Linked DNA regions of Homo sapiens: region 1 is linked to region 2. Evidence: promoter capture Hi-C in human tissues and cell types (Jung and others, 2019). All regions are on one chromosome and are shown on one strand. Each heading gives the region's core, a stretch centred on a gene start or on the middle of the fragment in contact. The rest is flanking DNA. Distances are from core to core; before and after follow the strand shown.

Region 1 (6,926 bases), core at 370-2,869, 47 kb before region 2:
AGGGTGCAGTGAGCCAGACTACGCCATTGCACTCCAGCCTGAGTGACAGAGCAAGACCTTGTCTCAAAAGAAAAAAAACAACAAAATAGCAAATTGTACTGGAATCCCAAGTAGACAGCAAGCCTCTGTTTTCCCAGTGGGAAGATTTTTAAAATTTTGTCTTTTTTTGATTTTTGGGGCAACCTAAATATTGAAATAATTAGGAATGGAAGTAAATAGTTGCATTTCTCCGTATCTGTTTTGTTGAACGTCTGTAGTGAATTGTATAAATGTGCTGTAACCATTTCGAACATTTGCTTTCTTCCCACGACCACATTTCAGGAGGGGGCTTTATGCAGACTCCCCCTTTAACTACACAGCTTTGCTCATCTGCAGGGCCCCAGGTTGAGCCACCAAGCTCAGTTTTCCAGAATCTTCTCTTCCTCACTCCCATATGCACTGAATTCCTTGAATCTCTACAGTATATGATGTTTCACTGGAAATTATTTTTGGGGGGTTTGCCAGATTTTCTATTATTTTATTTTAAAAATTATTTCGCGTGGTTTAAACATTAAAAATGTAAAGTAGATTACAAACCACATACCCGATATGGGGTTAACATCCAAAATAGATAAGGAACTCATACAACTCAATACCAAAAATTCCAAATAACATCTGGGAGCGGTGGCTCACACCTGTAATCCCAACACTTTGGGAGGCCGAGTTGGGCAGATCACGAGGTCAAGAGATCGAGACCATCCTGGCCAATATGGTGAGACCCTGTCTCTACTAAAAAATACAAAAATTAGCTGGGCGTGGTGGTGCACGCCTGTAGTCTCAGCTACTCGGGAGGCTGAGGCAGGAGAATTGCTTGAACCCGGGAGGTGGAAGTTGCAGTGAGCCGAGATCACGCCACTGCACTCCAGCCTGGCGACAGAGCGAGACTCTGCCTCAAAAAACACAAAAATCCAAATAACCTGACTGCAAAATGGACAAAGGACCAGAATAGGCATTTTTCCCAAAGAAGACATACAAATGGCAACAGGTATGAAAAGGTGTTCAACATCACTACTCATTGGGGAAATGCAAATCAAAATCACAAGGAGATATCACCACACACCCGTTAGAAATGTCAAAAGATGACAAATATTGGCAAGGATGTGGAGAAAAGAGAACTCTTTCGCACTGGTGGTGGGAATTTAAATTGGTATAGCCATCATGGAGAACAGTATGGAGGTTCCTAAAAAATCAAAAATAGAGCTACCACATGATCCAGCAATCCCTCTTCTAGGTATATATTCAAAGGAAATGAAATCACTGTCTTGAAGAGATGTCTGCACCTCCAATTCATTGCAGCATTATTCACAACAGCTGAGACATGGAAACAAACTAAGTGTCCATCAGTGCATGAACAGATACAGAGATAGTGGTACAATGGCCCCCTCTTAACCTCAGGGGATATGTTCCAAGACCCCCAGTGGATGTCAGGAACCATGGGTGGTACTGAACCCTGTATATACTGTTTTGTCTTATACATACATAACTATGACAGAGTTTAATTTTTTTTTTTTTTTTTTGAGACAGAGTTTCGTTTTTGTCTCCCAGGCTGGAATGCAATGGTGCAATCTTGGCTCACCACAACCTCCGCCCCCCAGATTCAAGCGATTCTCCTGCCTCAGCCTCCTGAGTAGCTGGGATTACAGGCATGCACCACCACACCCAGCTAATTTTGTATTTTTAGTAGAGACAGGGTTTCTCTGTGTTGGTCATACTGGACTCGAACTCCCGACCTCAGGTGATCCGCCCACGTCGGCCTTCCAAAGTGCTGGGATTACAGGCGTGAGCCACCATGCCTGGCCTGATAAAGTTTAATTTATAAATGAGGCACAGTAAGAGATTAACAACATAATAAAATGAAACCAATTATAACGATATACTGTAATGAAAACAAAATAAGGGTTACCTGAACACAAGTACTACCATACCATGACAGTTGACGTGATAACTGAGACAGTGGCTCCCAAGTGACTAATGGGCAGGTGTGGTCTACAGTGTGGATACACCGGACAGAGGGATGATTCACCCCCCAGGCAAGATGGAGCAGGATGGCACAAGAGTTCATCATGCTACTCAGAATGGTGTGCGATTTCAAACTTAGGGAGTTTTTCATTTAATATTCTTGGACCATGGTTGACTATGGGTGATGGAAACCTTGGAAAGTGAAACTGGATAAGACAGGACTGCTGTGTATGTAAATCCACGAAAGAATGTTATTCAGCCATAAAAAGGGAGAAATCCTGCCATTTGTAACAATATAGATGAACTTGGAAGACAATATTGTAAGTGAAATAAGCCAGACACAGAAAATCAAATACCGCATTATGTCATTTATACGTGGGAGCTAAAAAAGTTGAATTCAGAGGAACAGTAGAACAGTGGTTACCAGGGCTCAGGAGGTGGGGAAATGGGGGTGTGTTGGTTGAGGGTATAAACTTTGAGTTATAAAATGAATAAGTTCTGGAGATTTAATATACAAGTATACAATGTATTGTATACTTGAAATTTGCTAAGAGAGTGGATCTTAAGTATTCTCACCATGCATGCACGTGTGAGTGTGCACCTATGTAAGGTGATGGATATGCTAATTAGCTTGATTGCAGCAATCATTTCACACCATATTTGTGTATCAAAACATCATGTTGTACAACTTAAATAAGAATTTTCCTTTGTCAATTATACCTCAGCAAGGCTGGAAAAAAATTAAGTAATAACAGTGGTAAGTCTCCTTCCTTTTCTTGTCACATCCCCTTCCACCAATTCCCACTGCTCATAATTGATTAGTTTTATTAGTTTCAAATGGATCCTTCTAGAGTTCCTTCACACAAGTGCAAGTGAATGTGACTATATTCTTATTTTTCTTTTTTTCCACAAATGCATACTAAACACGTGGTTGCTGGCACTTTGCTTTGTGCTAACAATATATCACAGCAATAGATAACTCTTGGGTAAGGTTTAGTGTGTCCTCTACACTGCTCTAAGGGATATACAAATGTAAACTGATTTGATCCATGATCCAATCACTGCTATATATATATTTTTTTTGTTTTTGAGACAGAGTCTTGCTTGCTCTGTTGTCCAGCCTGGAGTGCAGTGGTGCAATCTCCGCTCACTGCAACCTCTGCCTCCTGGGTTCAAGCGATTCTCCTGCCCCAGCCTCCTGAGTAGCTGGGACTACAGGCGCCCACCACCATGCTTGGCTAATTTTTGTATTTTTATATTTTTGTTAGAGATGGGGTTTCACCATGTTGGCCAGGCTGGTCTCGAACTCCTGACCTCAGGTGATCTGCCCGTCTCGGCCTCCCCAAGTGCTGGGATTACAGGAGTGAGCCACTGCACCCAGCCCACTGCTATATTTTTATCCTGTGTTTTTTGCCAGGCAGGACAGAGCAGGATGGCACAAGATTTCAACACACTACTCAGAACAGCATGTAATTTAAAACTTATGACTGTTTATGTCCGGAATTTTTCATTTAATATTTTTGGACCATGGTTGACCATGGGTAACTGAAACCTTGGAATTCAAATTCTTTTGTATTTTGAGTATCACTCTGTCACCCAGGCTGGAGTGCAGTGGCTCCATCTCAGCTCACTGCAACCTCCACCTCCCGGGTTCAAGTGATTCTGCTGCCTCAGCCTCCCAAGTAACTGGGATTACAGGTGCCTGCCACCACCCCCAGCTTATCCTTTTTTGTATTTTTAGTAGAGACGGGGTTTCACCATGTTGGTCAGGCTGGCTTCAAACTCCTGAACTCAAGTGATCTGCCCACCTTGGCCTCCCAAAGTGTTGGGATTACATGCGTGAGCCACTGCACCCGCCCAGAATGCAAATTCTTTGTTATACAACACTATCTTTGACTCATTTTTGCCAAATGACCTTCATATGCCTTTTAAAAAAATTGTGGTAAAATAATAAATAACATAAAATATACTATTTTAACCATTTTAATTGTATAATTCAGTGGCAGTAAATACATTCACAATGTTGTATAACCATGCCGTTATCTATTTCCAGAAACTTTTCATGATTCTAAACAAAAGCTTTGTGCCCATTAAACAATAATTCCCCACCTGCCTTTCCTCCCAGCCCGACATATCTTCTATTCTACTTTCTGTCTCTTCTATTCTACTTTCTATTCTACTTTCTGTCGAATAGTATACTTCTATTGTACTTTCTGTCTCTGAATTTCCTGTTCTAGGATTCTCATTATATGAGATTTTGGAGACAGAGTCTCTGTCGCCCAGGCTGGAGTGCAGTGTCGCCATCTCAGCTCACTACAATCTCCGCCTCCCGGGTTCAAGCTATTCTTGTGCCTCAGCCTCCTGAGTAGCTGGGATTACAGGTACACACCACCATGCCTGGCTAATTTTTTTTTTTTTTTTTTGTATTTTAGTAGAGACAGGGTTTCACCATGTTGCCCATGCTGGTTCTCTAACTCCTGAGCCCAGGAAATCTGCCCACCTTGGCCTCCCAAGGTGCTAGGATTGCAGGCGTGAGCCACCATGCCTGGCATATGCGTCAGAATTTCATTCCTTTTTAAGAGTGAATACATTGTGTGTATATACTGCATTCTATTTATCCATTCACCTATCAACCGACATTTGGGTTGTTTCTGCCTTTTGGCTACTGTGAATAATGCTGCTATGAACATTGGTGCACGAGTATCTGTTTGAGTCTCTGGTTTCAGTTCTTTGGGCTATATACCTAGAACTAGAATTACTGGATCATATGGTAATTCTTTAACTTTCTGAGGAACTGCTAAACTCTTTTTCACAGCAACTGCAGTATTTTACATTCCCACCAGCAATGCATAAGGGTTCCAATTTCTCCACGTCCTCACCATCACTTATTTCCTATGTTTTAAATAGTAGCCATCCTCATGGTTGTGAATGGTATCACACTGTGGTTTTTACATGCATTTTCTAATGACTAATGGTGTTGAGCATTGTTTCATGTGTTTATCAGCCATTTGTATCTCTTCTTTGGAGAAATATCTATTCAAGTCCTTTGCCAATTTTCAAATCAGGTTGTTTGTTTTTTATTGTTGTTGAGTCGTAGGAGTTCTTTTATATATTTTGGGTGTTAGACCCTTATCAGATATATTATTTACAAATATTTTCTCACTTTCTGTCAGCTGTCTTTTCATACTGCATTACCTTTTTTGCTTAATTATTCATTGATTGTGCAAATATAGAGTGCCTCCTATGTACTCAGAACTGCTGTAGGCACAGGGGAAAAGTGGAGAATGGTCCTGCCTTGCTTTTTAAAGTCATCTGTAAACGCCGTGTTTACAGTGATATTCAAGATTGCAGTTGTGTGGTCAGACTTCAAAGAATGCCAGTTATTTCTAAAGCTGTGTTAAATTTCTTTGCCTCTTTTTTTAGCCATCCCATCAGATGATGCTTAGAAGTATCCAGAGTTGGCATCAACTGAGGTGGTTTCAACACTGCCCGCGCCCTGCAGGCCTAAACCTCTGGATGCCCAGTTCCCACGCACGTGATTTTGACATGATCAATCTGGGGTTGGCACCTGGGCATCCAGAGATTTAAGAGCTCCCAGGTAATTCTTCAGAGAGCCTGAAAAGTGGAGAAACATAGGAAGATAATGTATTTCAGTTGAACACTTAAGCTTATTGCTTTACATTGAAATGTCACCCGAAATGGTGACATTCATTTCAATGTAAAACAATGAGCTCAAGTTGAAGTCTAAAAGTTAAACATATTCAGCGTATTATTTGAAAATGAAGCCAACATACTTTAAAAAAAAAACATAGTCTACATTTTCGACCCTTTCAAATGCCCTGTGAGGTGCAGCCAGGTTTAGAATCGCTGGTGGGGCGAGTCTTCCTGAAACACGGCTTGTGGTTCAGAAGAGTCAGTGAGGGAGTTTCCAATACTTTGAAACTTCAGAGCAATCCAAAATGACTCTCACTTTTCCAAGGGGTGATTTCGGAGAAAACCAAATTTTATATTTTATATTTTTGTTTTAAACTTTATATTTGTGCATATAAATAGCATTACCGTGGAGCTTTAAAACAATGTATATTAAGGCTCATGTATGGTTCATGAAAATATTTTAAAAAAAAAAAAAGAAGTAGAAAAGAAAACAATATCTAAATAGTGTCATTCTTCAGTGCCCGGCTTTATCCCCTTACCAGTCTGCCCTTGGGAACTCTCTGTGTCTGTAGGTAAAATGTACTAACTCACTTTCACTGCTGTATGTTTCCAGAACATAAACACACCATTGTCTGTTTAATGGTGATGCACGCTAGTGATCTGTGGGCCAAAGTTGACCTTCAGAGATGCTTCTGTGGTCTGCACAGTGATTAAAAACTTTTTACTTGGATGCTAACCTTAAAAAACATCAGAAGGTTATACATAATTGTCTGGATTATCAGCTTCCTTTGAAAGCACAGGCCTTCTGGCCATGCTGGGGTGTTTCCCTCTCCTGCCGAGGGCTGGTTGGTGGGCTAAGTGCCATGGCCCCTTTCTGGCCCGTCTCTCTTTTACTTGGCCTGCCTTCTCTGGAGTGAGTTGAGTTTGAGACTCCAGCCCAATCTGCCAGTTAGGTTGTTGCTGATGTCTTTCTGTGATTGCTGCTGTGCTGAGCCTGCTCACAGTGGCCTCCTCCTCATGCACATGGGCTGGCATTGCTCTGGGGTTGGACCCTGGGGAGGGAGAATGCTGCTCAGTGTTTAGTGTTCCTTCTCCTGCTCTGGAAAGAACTACCATTTATTTAATGCATGATATAGTTTTGCTGTGTCCCCACCCAAATCTCATCTTGAACTGTAGCTCCCATAATTCTCATGTGTTGTGGGAGGGACCCAGTGGGAGATAACTGAATCATGGGGGTGGTTTCCCCCATACTGTTCTCCTTGTAGTGAATAAGT
Region 2 (6,163 bases), core at 144-2,643:
CCCGGCCGGGGTAGGCCCGGCTCAGCCCGGCCCCGGGACCGCCGCTGCCCACGGGCGGGGGCGCCCGGGCGGCCGGGACGATGCGCGGTCCCTGGCCCCAGGAGGCGGCCGCCCTGGGGGTGAGTGTTGGGGCGTACGGCCTTCCGTGGGGGTGCATGGGGACACGGACAGGGGGTTTGCCTGCCGCAGCTCGGCCTGTTGGTCTGCTCGGGCTCCGCAGCTCCAGGCTGGAGGGGAGCGGGGTGGGAGGCAGGCAAGGGCTGAGGCCTGAGGGGACGCGCAATCCCCATTCTGGGGCTAAGGCGTGAGCCCTACATGCAGGGGGTGCTCAGGGGAACCCCCCGAAATCACTAGTGCGCGGTAGGAGGATGGCACCTTTTGAAAAGGCCAGAAAATTTAGCTCATTTCCCCGCCTCCCACCTCCCCCACCCCTTCCCTTCCAAGCCCGGGGAAAGGCGCAGAACCCGGAGTTATAAAAAGCCATCGCGGGAGAGGAACGAGGAGGAGGAGTAGGAGGAGGAGGAGGAGGAGGAGGAAGAGGAGGAGGAGGGGGAGAAGGAAGAGGAGGGGGAGGAGAAGGAGGAGAAGGGGGCGGGGAAGGAGCGAGGGGAGGACGGAGCAGGCGGATCCCGAGGACTCTGCCCGCCCCTCCTGCGGTAGGGTTGGGGGCTCAGAGGGAGAGGCGAGAGCGGGCTTTTCCTCCTCGCGGCTCACCTTGTCGCTGGAGCAATCTCAGGAGATGCTCCAGTGTTTGGGAAGAGGGGTCGCTCCAGGACAGAGGGGCTGTTGTGCACACCCCGTCTGTTGTGACCTCGGACAGGTGGGCACCTGGAACCCCCGGAATTCCCCCAAATCTTTTAAGATTTGGAAAAAAGCCCGCTGCCATTCCCCCACCCCCAAAATCTTGATTATCTCGAGAAGGGGAAGGAAAAGAAGAGAACTCGTTAAAAAAAAAAAAAAGAAGGAAAGAAGAAGAAGAAAGAAAGAAAAAGATAAAGAAAGAAAGTTTTCATGCAGCTCCCCCTCTCTCCCCATGGCGGGGCCAGGTTCGGGACTCGATCGGGAGACCCATAATGAAGAGAGTTTCAGCACTCTAAGGGGCGGACAGCGCCCCGGGCGGCTGGGTCGCGCCTGGGCCGCAGAAGCCCAGGGTGGGGCCTCCCGGGCTCCAGGGGCATCTCTTGGGGCCCTCTCCCCGCCCCGAGGGGCGGCCCCTCCCTCCATCCATGGGGTGCGGCGGACTTCAGCACCGGCGGGAGGGACAGCGACCATCCGTCCTACCCCACTGAGCCGCTTAAGCGCGGGGGAAGGTCAAGGCCGGCTGGGAGCCTGGTGGAGAGGTGGGGGGCGGGGGGACAGCATGCCCAGCTCCCCGTTTGCTGACCCGCGTCCGCTTTCGCTTTCTGCCTCGCAGCCGTCGGGATGGAGGTGAGAAGACGGCCGTGACGCGCGCCCGCGGGGCCCCCTGCACCCCCAGCAGCCCACAGCGCTCCCTGCCCCCCTCCCCCGCAGCAGCGGGCCTTGCCGTCGAGTGACAGCGGCCTGGGGGGGCAGGGGGGGCGGGGGCGGCCGGATCAGCGATGCCGGCGGGCATGACGAAGCATGGCTCCCGCTCCACCAGCTCGCTGCCGCCCGAGCCCATGGAGATCGTGCGCAGCAAGGCGTGCTCTCGGCGGGTCCGCCTCAACGTCGGGGGGCTGGCGCACGAGGTACTCTGGCGTACCCTGGACCGCCTGCCCCGCACGCGGCTGGGCAAGCTCCGCGACTGCAACACGCACGACTCGCTGCTCGAGGTGTGCGATGACTACAGCCTCGACGACAACGAGTACTTCTTTGACCGCCACCCGGGCGCCTTCACCTCCATCCTCAACTTCTACCGCACTGGGCGACTGCACATGATGGAGGAGATGTGCGCGCTCAGCTTCAGCCAAGAGCTCGACTACTGGGGCATCGACGAGATCTACCTGGAGTCCTGCTGCCAGGCCCGCTACCACCAGAAGAAAGAGCAGATGAACGAGGAGCTCAAGCGTGAGGCCGAGACCCTACGGGAGCGGGAAGGCGAGGAGTTCGATAACACGTGCTGCGCAGAGAAGAGGAAAAAACTCTGGGACCTACTGGAGAAGCCCAATTCCTCTGTGGCTGCCAAGGTGAGTCTGGGATCTGGGGGCTGCTGGTCTGGGGGGATCTGCTTGCATCCCCATATTGAGGACCACTGCTGGAGGACTCTGGCTTTGTTCCCAACGATGAAGATTAGTAATGGGGAGGGGCTAGGACTGAGTCCCCAGAGGTGAGGACCAACCCCCTCAGACTTTTCCCATGTGGCACTGGTCACTCCATCTTTTTATTATCCAAGACGTTATACCCCTACTTGGTTGGAGAGGTTTCACAGGGACCCATAAAAAGCCACAGCAAGAAGATGGACACTGACGAATAAGAGAGAGAGCACAGAGAGACAACAGTGGCTTGCTGGGGTGGAGTAGGGTTTGCTTCCCTGTGAAGTCCCAGACCTAGGCTGGATTGGATCACCCTGTGATTTTAATATCTCCATATTTATAACCTCACTCTGCCCCAGCAAGGGAAAAAAGCAGCTTACAGACATGCTTACAGGACATTGAGATACTGTCAGATAGTTTAAACATAAGTAAGAAGGGACCCCGAGGGGTGGGTGTGGACCCACACGACACATGCAGTTGGTTGTGGATGCTTGCGGGTGAGGGGTCACCCCCTGGTTACTTATTTATTTGGTGAGTTTATTTCCAGAATGGTTTGGTGCAGCTTGTAAAGATGTTTCAGCTCTTGGAACAAGATGTAAATTTCAAAATAGGAGAGAAAAATGAGGCAATGTGAAAAATAAAGGAGGAGGAGGAGGAGGAGGCAGGAATGAGTTTGAACACAAAGAGTGGGCCAGAGAGTCTTTGGTGCTGCTGGGTAATGGCAGGGGCTGTAGGGGACTGAGGAAGGCTTGGGGTGGGAGCCAAGGCAGGGCAGGAGGGCACTGGTTGATCAGCAACTTCTCTACGTCAGGCTGGGATTTGGGGTTGCCTGGGAAAGATGGGGCCTGTCTTCATGTGCCCGAAGTGCTGGGTGCTGGGAGCAAATGACAAAACAGTGTGTGCAAGGCTATAAAAGAGGTTCTGTGAGGTTCACGGAGAACCCAGAAAAGAGAGATGTTGATGTTGAAATCCAGCAAGACCAACTTGGGAAACATGGGGAGAATGTAACTGAGTGTGGGGCCTAAAAAAAGGGGTCAGGTAAGTAGATTTGTGGTAAAAGAAAGAGGAGAGGAGGAAGCCTAAATATCCAGCCATATCTTACTAGCTAGGGCTGACTCCTGTCCAGCCCAGCCTTTCATTGTGGGGTCTCCGGCTCAGTTCTCACTGAAGGCCCACCTGCAGGTCCCAGTCTGAAGGGAGACTCCGTGGGGTCCTTCCTCCAGATCTAGCCACCCAAGGAGAGGCCCCTGAGAGTGGATGGAGAAGGGGTGGCTGGTAAGAGGGTGGAGGGAGCCCCCACGTGTTTTTTTCGTTTCCCTGTTGGCCCTAACAAGGATGTAGAGGCTCCTGGGCCTGGCTTCCTCCTCTGAGGCTGTGGGCTGTCTCTCTCCATAATCCCGCCCCCAATTTTGTGTCCAAAAAGCCTCCTCCTAAGACAGAGTCACTCACCCTTAATCAGCTTAGGATCAACAGACTTATTTTGCTATTTCCAGGCATGACACAGGTTCTCCCACTGCACATCCCATTTAGGCCCAAATGTGACTCTCCCTCCCTGTCCCATCCCTAAGACATGAGAACAAGGTACAGGGAACTGGACAATTTGCCCTCCCAGAGAAGAAGCAGGCACAGGGCCATGTTTTGGTCTGGCAGCAAGACCCAAGCACCGGGGCTTGCAAGAGGTGCTGTTTGGGAATAAAGAACCTCTCCTCTCCCTTGGGTTAATCCGCTAGCAGGGACAGCCTTGTGACCTCTCCATGATCCCAGTCTGGGGCTGCCAGCTCACATTCCTGGCAGATGGACCATCTAGGATTTTCTGTAGCCAGAGCTGAAATGGGGAGGGAGGCAGGCTCACTGGCCCTCAGAATAGAAATCCTGGCTGCCAATGATCAAACACCTACTGTGTATGGAGTGTAACAACGCAGCTCTGTTATTATCCCACCTTTCGCAAACAGTGAGGCTGAAAGAGGTTAAGTAACTTGCCTAAGGTCACACCACAGGCAGTCAGGAGTAGCCAGAAATCCAAACCGAGTGTTCTTTCTATAATGATCAAGTGCCGCAGCCTCCTCCCCAGTCTCCCGGCTTCCACTTTTGCCCCTGCAATCCATTCCCCACATAGCAGCCAAAGTGAGCTTTTCAAAATGTAAATTGGATCACATTATTCATCTGCTTAAAATCCTCCAGAAGTTTCCCATCACACTCAAAATAAAATTCAGACTTTTCATCCTGGCATACAAGGCCCAGGCAGAATCTGGCCCCCATGACCTCTCTGGGCTCATCTCTTTTGATCTCCTCTGGTTCACTTGGCTCCAGCCCCACTGGCCTTGCTGTTCCATAAACAGGCCAGAGTTTATCTGACCTCAGGACCCTTGCACTTGCTGTTTCCGCTGCCTGGAATGCTCTTCCCCAGATTCCCCCTTGGCCAGCCCCTTCTCCCCCTTCCTCATTTGAGCAGGTCCCTGCTCACATGTCCCCTCCTCATACAGACCTTCCTTGACCGCTGTTCTAAACAGTTTCCCTCCCCTCACTCTCTGTTGCATCATGCAATGCCTTTCCTGCAGAGGCCTTAAACGCCATCTGAAATTATATTTCCTTCTTTGTGTGTCTCTGTTTCACACCCACAAGAATGTGAGTACCATGAGTTGATTCACTGCTTGATTCCCAGCACCCATGATGGTGCCTGGCACTGAGGAGCATGTGGAATGAATAAATGAATGAATGAACGAATGAATGAATGAACGAATGAATGAATCAAGCAAGCAAGCAAGCAGTCAGTCACTGTGTCTCAGGGTTTGGGGACCTGTCACCCCTTCTCACTGCCCACCTGCAACCCAGGTCCCTGTGCCTCTGGCCTCCTTTGAGTCATCTGCACCTTGCCCATCCCATCCCCACCCATCCCCCCAGCTTGGATGCCTTGCTTGTCAAAACAAGCAAAGCCTGTGGAAATTGCTTAGAACTCACAGAGTGACAGGACCAAATGGAGGATCATTTCTAGGTGATTGTAAGATACAAAAGTGGCCATATCTCATATGCTGAAGAGCAAGGATGGATCTGGTTCTGTGCCACTCCCCACTTCCATAGCTTTTAGCTAATTTCTCCAACTTTCCAAGTCCCAACCTTCCACCTGTAAAATGGAGATAAAAGGCTCACCTTACAGGGTCTTCATTAAATCACATTTGTCAAAATTTTGCTCAAAGCCTAGCACATAGCAGGTGGGGATTGTTGTTATAAATGCTAAGGAAAAGAGTCTTTTTTCTAGGGCTGGGTGGGCCGAGTTGCTGCAAACCCTTTCCTTCTGAGAGCAGCAGGGCCAGGGAGACTGAGCTGACACTGTTAATAATTGATGGGATGTTCTGGCAACTCGGAGACAAACCAAAGCACAGGCCCTAGGCTTTGCCATCAGGGGAGCGAAAATCAAAACCCATTAGGCAAAAGGCAGTGTGATTGATTCTTGTTTAGAAGATGGGGACAGCCCCATTGGTGTGACAGGGTTGCGGTGCTGGGGCTACCACGGGGCTTTGGCTTTCTCGGAAAACTCGACAGGCTTTTCTCAGTAGGAGAGACAGGGAACTGATTTGCCAGCCCAGGAGTGTCTGTGATCCCTGGGATAGTCTCAGGATTAAAGCCCTGAGATAACTTCCTAATTTCCAGGGTAGCTTATGTTTGTTGTGCCCAGCACTGATTAGTGGTGCTTCATATCTGCTATCTCATTGAAATTCCTCCAACAGGGATACAACCAGGTAGTATGCCAGTTAGGGATGCTTTGGGCTGCAAGCAGCAGAATAGAAAACTCAAAGTAGCTTCAATAAGGAGGAAGATGCATCATTGAATATAATATGAAGTTCCAAGGCAGTTGGTTTTAGGTTGAGTTAATGGCTCAATGATGCCACCAGGATTCTAGATTCTTTTCATCTCTCTGCTCCTCTGCTCCCCAACCCCTGCAAGTGGCTTGG

What was found. The method cuts DNA at HindIII sites, captures the fragments that hold promoters and counts their contacts. A contact is called where the count stands out against the background at its distance.
Region 1: a contact is called between a fragment that was not itself captured here and the fragment with the promoter of KCNB1 in region 2, in 1 of the 25 tissues and cell types used here (aorta).

The regions. Positions count from the first base shown.
Region 1 is chr20:49,524,785-49,531,710 of GRCh38, reverse strand. All of the region lies in intron 5 of PTGIS (prostaglandin I2 synthase), which reads left to right. Among named protein-coding and RNA genes, the nearest start is that of PTGIS, 40 kb to the left of the region's middle. The HindIII fragment of the contact is 6,504 bases long and covers 1-4,871 here.
Region 2 is chr20:49,477,898-49,484,060 of GRCh38, reverse strand. KCNB1 (potassium voltage-gated channel subfamily B member 1) reads left to right here and starts at 1,393. Exons shown (of 2, transcript NM_004975.4): 1 at 1,393-2,147. The coding sequence starts at 1,581. The HindIII fragment of the contact is 16,129 bases long and covers 1-6,163 here.